Linked DNA regions of Homo sapiens: region 2 is linked to region 1. The links are contacts of gene promoters, found by promoter capture Hi-C in human tissues and cell types (Jung and others, 2019). All regions are on one chromosome and are shown on one strand. The core of a region is centred on a gene start or on the middle of the fragment in contact, and the rest is flanking DNA. Distances in the headings are between cores, read along the strand shown.

The links. Contacts are between HindIII fragments. The study calls those that stand out against the background at their distance.
Region 2: a contact is called between a fragment that was not itself captured here and the fragment with the promoter of SEMA3C in region 1, in 1 of the 25 tissues and cell types used here (H1 embryonic stem cells).

Annotation. Positions count from the first base shown.
Region 1 is chr7:80,917,584-80,921,116 of GRCh38, reverse strand. SEMA3C (semaphorin 3C) reads left to right here and starts at 2,066. Exons shown (of 18, transcript NM_006379.5): 1 at 2,066-2,289. RefSeq lists a silencer at 1,800-1,929 and an enhancer at 2,477-2,546. The HindIII fragment of the contact is 9,014 bases long and covers 1-3,533 here.
Region 2 is chr7:80,430,100-80,433,743 of GRCh38, reverse strand. No RefSeq gene overlaps it. Among named protein-coding and RNA genes, the nearest start is that of GNAT3, 80 kb to the left of the region's middle. The HindIII fragment of the contact is 5,075 bases long and covers 1-3,644 here.

The sequences.
Region 1 (3,533 bases), core at 817-3,316:
AATTGAGTTTGGAATTAAGCTCCTTTGTAAATACACCGTTTGAGATGCATTTCATCTTGCAACTCTTTATCGTGGTTTTCTCAAACTTAAAATGTATAAACGAATTCCATCTTACGTGAATTTGCTGATCAATTTCTAACAGCTCCACATTTCTAAATTAATTTAATCCACACACTCATCTTTCTAATGATTTATTCTTCTCCCTGCTTAATATATAAATGCCGAATGAGATATCAGAAGGAGGATAATAGTGGAGAGTATATAACCTGGATCTTACTCAGTTTCAGAAGTATTTCAGAGAAGCACGCACAGTGCTTATTCACATTGACATCTGGATTTTAATATTGTCAGTTTTTGGGGGGTTAAATTCCTTATTACAAATTTATGTCAAGGATCTTCTCACGCATCATCACAAAAAATAATTTTAACTGTTGTTACTATATTAATTTTTTGACGTTTGGAGATAATATTAGCCCTGGAATAGTATTTTTGAACTCATAAATTTGCATTATTTGACTTGATCCTTCGTTCCTTGACTATGCAGCGTGAGTCTGAGACACGTGTATGTTTACTGAACACAAGAGGTGGGCCCCAGACACATGAAAGATGTGTCTCACTCACCTCTTCCTCCTACCTGAGATTTCATTCAACTTTCCCACTGAACAATGATTTTGCACCCCCAGAGGGGTTTTCTATGATACAGTTTATAAGAATTTAATGATTGTTTCATTATGTGAATTGTCAGGTATAAGGTGGAGATATTACACTCCACGTTCCTTCTGTAGAGTGACATCTGCTGGGCTGTGCCCCACAGTGATTTTAAGCAAGTGCCTGCTTGTTTTATGGGGATCAAAGCTCATTTCTCCCGATGTTTAAACATCTAGTTTATTGTGGTCCGGAGAAGTAATTTTCACTTAAACATCAAAGTCAGTTCCAGAGTTTAACGAGTGTACCTGAAAGTAATGCTGGAAAAATACCTCTGATGTATTTCTGTAGATGTGTGGTTATGGCAATCTGTTGGCATAACTCAGAACAGCCTCTCCACATAGAATTGTCAAATAATTTCTTCGTGTAATTATGTTTGGGAGTATGGTTGGGGACAACGTACTGGATATGAGTCAACGTGGAGGGGTCAACAGAATTACTGCTTTCAGGGCATTAAGGAAACTCAATAGGAAACAATACCCATTAAAAGGATACACTTGTGCAACAAGATTGTCGTTTATCTTGACCTGTTTTAGAAAACACGCAACAGAGGCCCGGCGCGGTGGCTCTCGGCACTTTGGGCGGCTGAGGCGGGCGGACCATTAGGTCAAGAGATCCAGACCATCCTGGCCCTGTCTCTACTAAAAATACAAAAATTAGCTGGGCGTGGTGGTGGGAGCCTGTAGTCCCAGCTATTCAGGAGGCTGAGGCAGGAGAATCGCTTGAACCCGGGAGGCGGAGGTTGCAGTGAGCCATGATCACACCACTGCACTGCACTCCAGCCTGGCGACAGAGTGAGATTCCCTCTCCAAAAACAAAACAAAAAACAAAAAACAAAAAACAAAAAAAAAACGCAGCAGAATAAGGACAAAACTCACGTCCTTTTAAAAACGCATCTCTTTGCCTTAAAAGGCTGCAGTGATCCTTCCCTGGCAAAAATAAAAAACCACAACTGCTTTGCACTTTGATATTTACGGCCAGGCAAAGCCTGTGTAAGTCTTCGAGAGCCGCCGGCAACAAAAACCGTGGAGCGCACCCAGCAAGTTGCTCACTCCGCCGCGGACTGCGAAAGGAGCAGGGTTGCGGAGCTAGGGCTCCAGCCTGCGGCCGCGCATTCTTGCGTCTGGCCAGCCGCGAGCTCTAAGGGTCGGCCCCGCCCGGTCCGCCCCCGCGGCTCCCTGCCAGGCTCTCGCGGGCGCGCTCGGGGTGGGGCCTCGCGGCTGGCGGAGATGCGGCCGGGGCTGCGCGGTGGTGATGCGAGCCTGCAGGGCGGCGCGCCGGGGCAGCCGGAGCCGCGCGCCGCGGCGCTGTAATCGGACACCAAGAGCGCTCGCCCCCGGCCTCCGGCCACTTTCCATTCACTCCGAGGTGCTTGATTGAGCGACGCGGAGAAGAGCTCCGGGTGCCGCGGCACTGCAGCGCTGAGATTCCTTTACAAAGAAACTCAGAGGACCGGGAAGAAAGAATTTCACCTTTGCGACGTGCTAGAAAATAAGGTCGTCTGGGAAAAGGACTGGAGACACAAGCGCATCCAACCCCGGTAGCAAACTGATGACTTTTCCGTGCTGATTTCTTTCAACCTCGGTAAGCTAAATTGGTCATTTTCCGCATTACAGATTTAGCAAAGTATAACTTTTTTGGCCTGTATATTGATTTTTCATACATTGGTATGCTCAAGCCTGGACATTTTCTTAAGAACACACGCGGTTTGTCAGGGAAGCTTTCCCCTTGCTGAGAGCCCTGCTCGAGTTGTTTCTTTAGGCGGTGACACCTGCGGAGAGTTTCAAGTTGAGTATTACAGTGCCTTCAAAGGCAAAATTGCTCCAGAGGAGATAAGAGAATTCTTTTCTTAATGTGTTGTTAGTTTGCGATCAGCAGAAGTGAAAACACCAAGAGGAACGTCTGTGTCTGAGTTAAAGGGAAGAAGTTGTAAGATACTGTTGGGGAGGCGGGGGTGTATTTAAGACACTTGGCTTTCAGTCTTTCACTCCTCATCACTAGGTGGGATGTAAATCAAATTGCCCTGTAGACTATCTTCGTTTCACCTGCCATTGTATCACCAGTATTCTTTGCAATTGGTTGTATATGTACTTTTGGGAGAAACATATAAGGTAAGATACCAATATGTAAAAAAAATGTGTAAATAATATCAACTTGCTCAGTAAACATAACAAAGGTTAGGCATATTAATAGTTTTTTTCTTTTGGCTTTAACTATGAAGTCAACAGAACCAAGGGGTAAATTACTGAGGGAAAGTCACCCATAAAATCAGTTTCTTTCTAAGTTAATTTAGGGATGACAGGGTGAAGAGGTTGTGGAAGCAGGAAGAAACTGTTTCTTTTGAAAATTACCAACACAAACATCTCTAGAGTTTCCTCCATCTGTGTGGTAAAAGAAGCGTACAATTTCATTTCTAACTCTCATAACATATGCACCACCTAGGAAATCTACTTACAATTTTTGTTTAAAATTGCATATTCCATTTAATTCTTTTTATTCTGTATTAATGAAGCTGTCTTTTTCAGTTGTTAGTGGTTCTTACAAAGAATTTAATAATTTTGACTATGAAATTTTAATTTGAAAAGCCAAATAATGAAGATCAGCATTGTTGTAACCTGTAAAAATAAATTTCTTTACTGGACTCTTGGGTCACTTTATTGTGTAATTATGGTAGAAGCAAAATGATTGTGTTTCTTTAATGGTCCTGAGTTTATTTTACATGATGTAGCCACTAGAGCTCCTGTAGGTTTATGGTAACACATTATCTGGTCTTCCTTGGGATTCAGATATTAGTTAATAGCATGTACCAATTTTATATCTATAGTTTG
Region 2 (3,644 bases), core at 505-3,004, 490 kb after region 1:
GTATGTAACAAAGGTTAAAGTAAAAACACCAGTCAAAGGTGGGCACAAAAGCATAGAAAACCAATTAGGAAAGGGTAGGTATATGTAAAATAGGTGAAGGGTGGGGATTAATCAGAGGAAAGCACACCAAACAGGAGGACAAGTTCTCAATCTAGTCCCAGGATTTAGCTTGTAGCTTGGATTTCAGGTTTAAACTGTCTTCAGCTTGGAGGTGAGGTTTCACCGGGTACCTGCCCCTATCTGCCTAGGCATTTGGCTGCCTCCTGTCACTATCAGGATGACCAATTATAAAGAAATTATGCTATAGGGAAGTAAAAGTCTTAATAAAAAGACTAGAATGATTTTGTTATCCCTTAGATAGCTCAAAGTTGCATTAACTCATGATGTTTCTTCTTTTTTCTTTTGGGTAATATTACTTCCTAGAACAACTACAAAGTAATATTACTTAAAAGAAAATGGACTGTGGCTCTCAGGTTTGCTTGGTCTATGTGGGCCTGGAAATTCTAGTAAATCTATTTGCTCAATAGGGTTTCCTATCTATTATTCATCATGGGTCTCTCCTATTTTGGAGAAATACTTAAAAATCATGGATATTTTCATGCTGTCAATATCTAGGATTCATTTGGCCTAAGAAAAGCTGAAAGCTGTGTAGTTTGACAAAAGACTTGCCAAGAAAGTTAAATATATCTAGTTCTCCTTTTCCCATGTTTGACATTTCCATGGAGGAAGGGAGACAAGGAAAGAAGTTGCAAATATATTAGCATTCTTTCTGTTTTTCTCTGCCTGATATACTCCATGGAATCAATCTTGTGTGTACATTTAGGGAAAAAGTCTTTACATGATTACAATAAGCCAGATCTCCCTTCTTCCTTTTTTGCCTCTTCACTCTCCCTCACTGAAAACCTCTGATTTAAAGGCAGGAAAGCTTTAAAAATGTACACACTTTGGGATTCAGCCCTGTTGCTGGCATGTGTCAATAGTTCATTCTTTTTATTACTGTGCAATATTCCATTGTATTGATATGCCATAATTTATTTATCCATGCACATACTGATTGACATTTGAGTTGTTTCAAGTTTGGGGCTATTACAAATAAAGCTGCTATGAATATCCATGTAAAAGTATTGGCGTGACATGTTTTCACTTATCTTGAGTAAATGCTCTGGAGTGGAGTGACTGGGTCATATGACAGGTGTATCTAACTTTTGAAGAAATGGTCAAACTGTTTCCCAAAGCGGCTGTACCATTTTACATTCCCACACCCATGTATGAAAATTTCAGTTGCTTCACCCTGCCAACACATGGTTTGGTCATCAACCTTTTACATTTTATTAATTCAAATAAGCATATATTACTCTCATTGTAGTTTTAGTTTTCATTTCCCTGATGACTACAAACATTGAAATTTTCATCTGCTTATTCACCATTCTTATACCTTCTACAAATTGTGTGAGTCCACTTACAAATTCTTGTGAAGAAAGTGGTAATGACTGAAAGCAAGTTAGTGATTGCCTTGGGACAAGGCAGAAGAAGGGATGAGTTGCAAGGGGCACAAGGAAACTTTTCAGAGTTATGGAAATTCTTGTTATCCTTATTAAGGTGAGGGTTACACAGACATATACAGATGTCACAGCAAATTAAATTATATACTTTAAATATATGCAGCTTATTGTATTTCAATTCAATTACACCTCAACTAAATTATAAAAAATCCAAAAACTTTATTAGAAGTAAACCAAAAGCAAAATTCTAAGCCTCCCAACCAACTGAACAGACTCCTCCTCACAGCCAAAGGCATTCTAAAGTTAATTTGAAAAACTAGTTCAGGCCATGATGGGAAATGAGGGTCTGACATGCCTCATTATACCCTTCTCCCTTTGGAATTCAAGCACAGTTGACCAACATTAACATGAAAACAGAGGCCTTAAGACTGATAGAACAGACTCTTTAAGACTGGTAAGAAATATTCCCTTCCACGGATTCTATCTGCATAATGGGAACCTCGCTGTCCATAAACTCTTATCTCAACCCAGACATTCCTTCCTATTGATTTTAGTCAATAACTTAACTCTTTAAACCAATTGCCAATTAGAAAATTCTTGAATCCACCTATGACCTGGAAGCCCTTGCTTCGAGTTGTCCTGCCTTTCTGGACTCAACCAATATACATCTTACATGTATTAATTGATGTCTCATATCTCCCTAAAATGTATAAAACCAAGCGGTAGCCCAATCACCCTGAGCACGTGTCAGGACCTCCTGAGGCTGTGTCACTGGTTCCAGGTGAGGTGTCAGAGCCTCAGCAACAGAAAATGGTTAATCACAGGTAGTAAGAAGAATTTACCAACGATGTTATTGGCAGTGAATCCATACAGGTCTGCAGCAACCTCAATTCTTGCTCCTCAGAAGAAAGAATTTGACTGAGGGGCATAAGGTAGAAGGAGAGACTGAGGCAAGTTTTAGAGTAGGAGTGAAAGTTTATTAAAAAGTTTAGAACAGGAACGAAAGTATACTTGAAAGAGGGCTGAGCAGGTGAGTTGAGAGAGTCAAGGGCCCTGTATGACCTTTGACTTGGGGTTTTATATGTTGGCATTCATCTGGGGTCATGTGTCCCTTCTCCCCTGATTCTTCCCTTTGGGTGGGCTGTCCACATGCACAGTGTCCTGCCAGCACTTGGGAGAGGAGCATGCACAGTGTTTTTAGTGAAACTATATGCATGCTCATTTGAGGCGTTCTTCCCTTACCAGCTGAATATCACTAGAAGGCCATACACCAGTTAAACTCTACCATTTTGCCTCTTAATGTGTGTGCTTGAGCCCACTTGCCTAACTCCTAAGATCTTATCAGGAAGCTGCTGATCCCTAGTTTCAGGTTTTTTGTGTTAATTGGGAGACTGCCTTTTCCTGGTGTTGGCTGTGGCCAATTATCTTAGAGAGACAGGTAACAACCACTTCACCATCACTTGATGGTCACCTGACATTTCTGGTGGGGGGTAGGGGGGCTCCCTCTCCTGCGGTGCTCATGTCTGACTAGCTACCTACTCTAACAATAAAATATATAAAACTCATGTTTGGTTGCTAAACTGAAGGAAGTCACAATTTATTACCGCAGAATATATTTCTTGGATGTATTTTGAAATGGCTGCCACAGGGCCAGCAGACTGAAGTGGCCCTGCAAAGCAGTCTTTTGTGGCAGAAATTTGCATCTGTAGAGAATCTCCATTAATGCAGCTAATGTTTCCTAGATCCGTTTCTAGGCCCTTTCCTGGATCTAGGATAGATTAGCCGAGAGTCTGACACCTTTAATGTTCCAAAAAGAGACACCACCTAATCTCTCTGAGGGCTTCTACCTCTGAGGTTTTGTCAGAAGCATGTGAACCCGAGCAACTCCATCTTGAATAGGAGCTGGGTAAAATGAGGCTGAAACCTACTGGGCTGCATTCCCAGATAGTTAAGGCATTCTAAGTCACAGGATGAGATAGGAGGACAGCACTATATACAGGCCACAAAGATCTTGATGATAAAACAGTTTGCAGTAAAGAAGCCGGCCAAAACCCACCAAAACCCACATGGTCATGAGTGACCTCTGGTCATCCTCACTGCTACACTCCCACCAGCACCATGACAGTTTACAAATGCCATGGC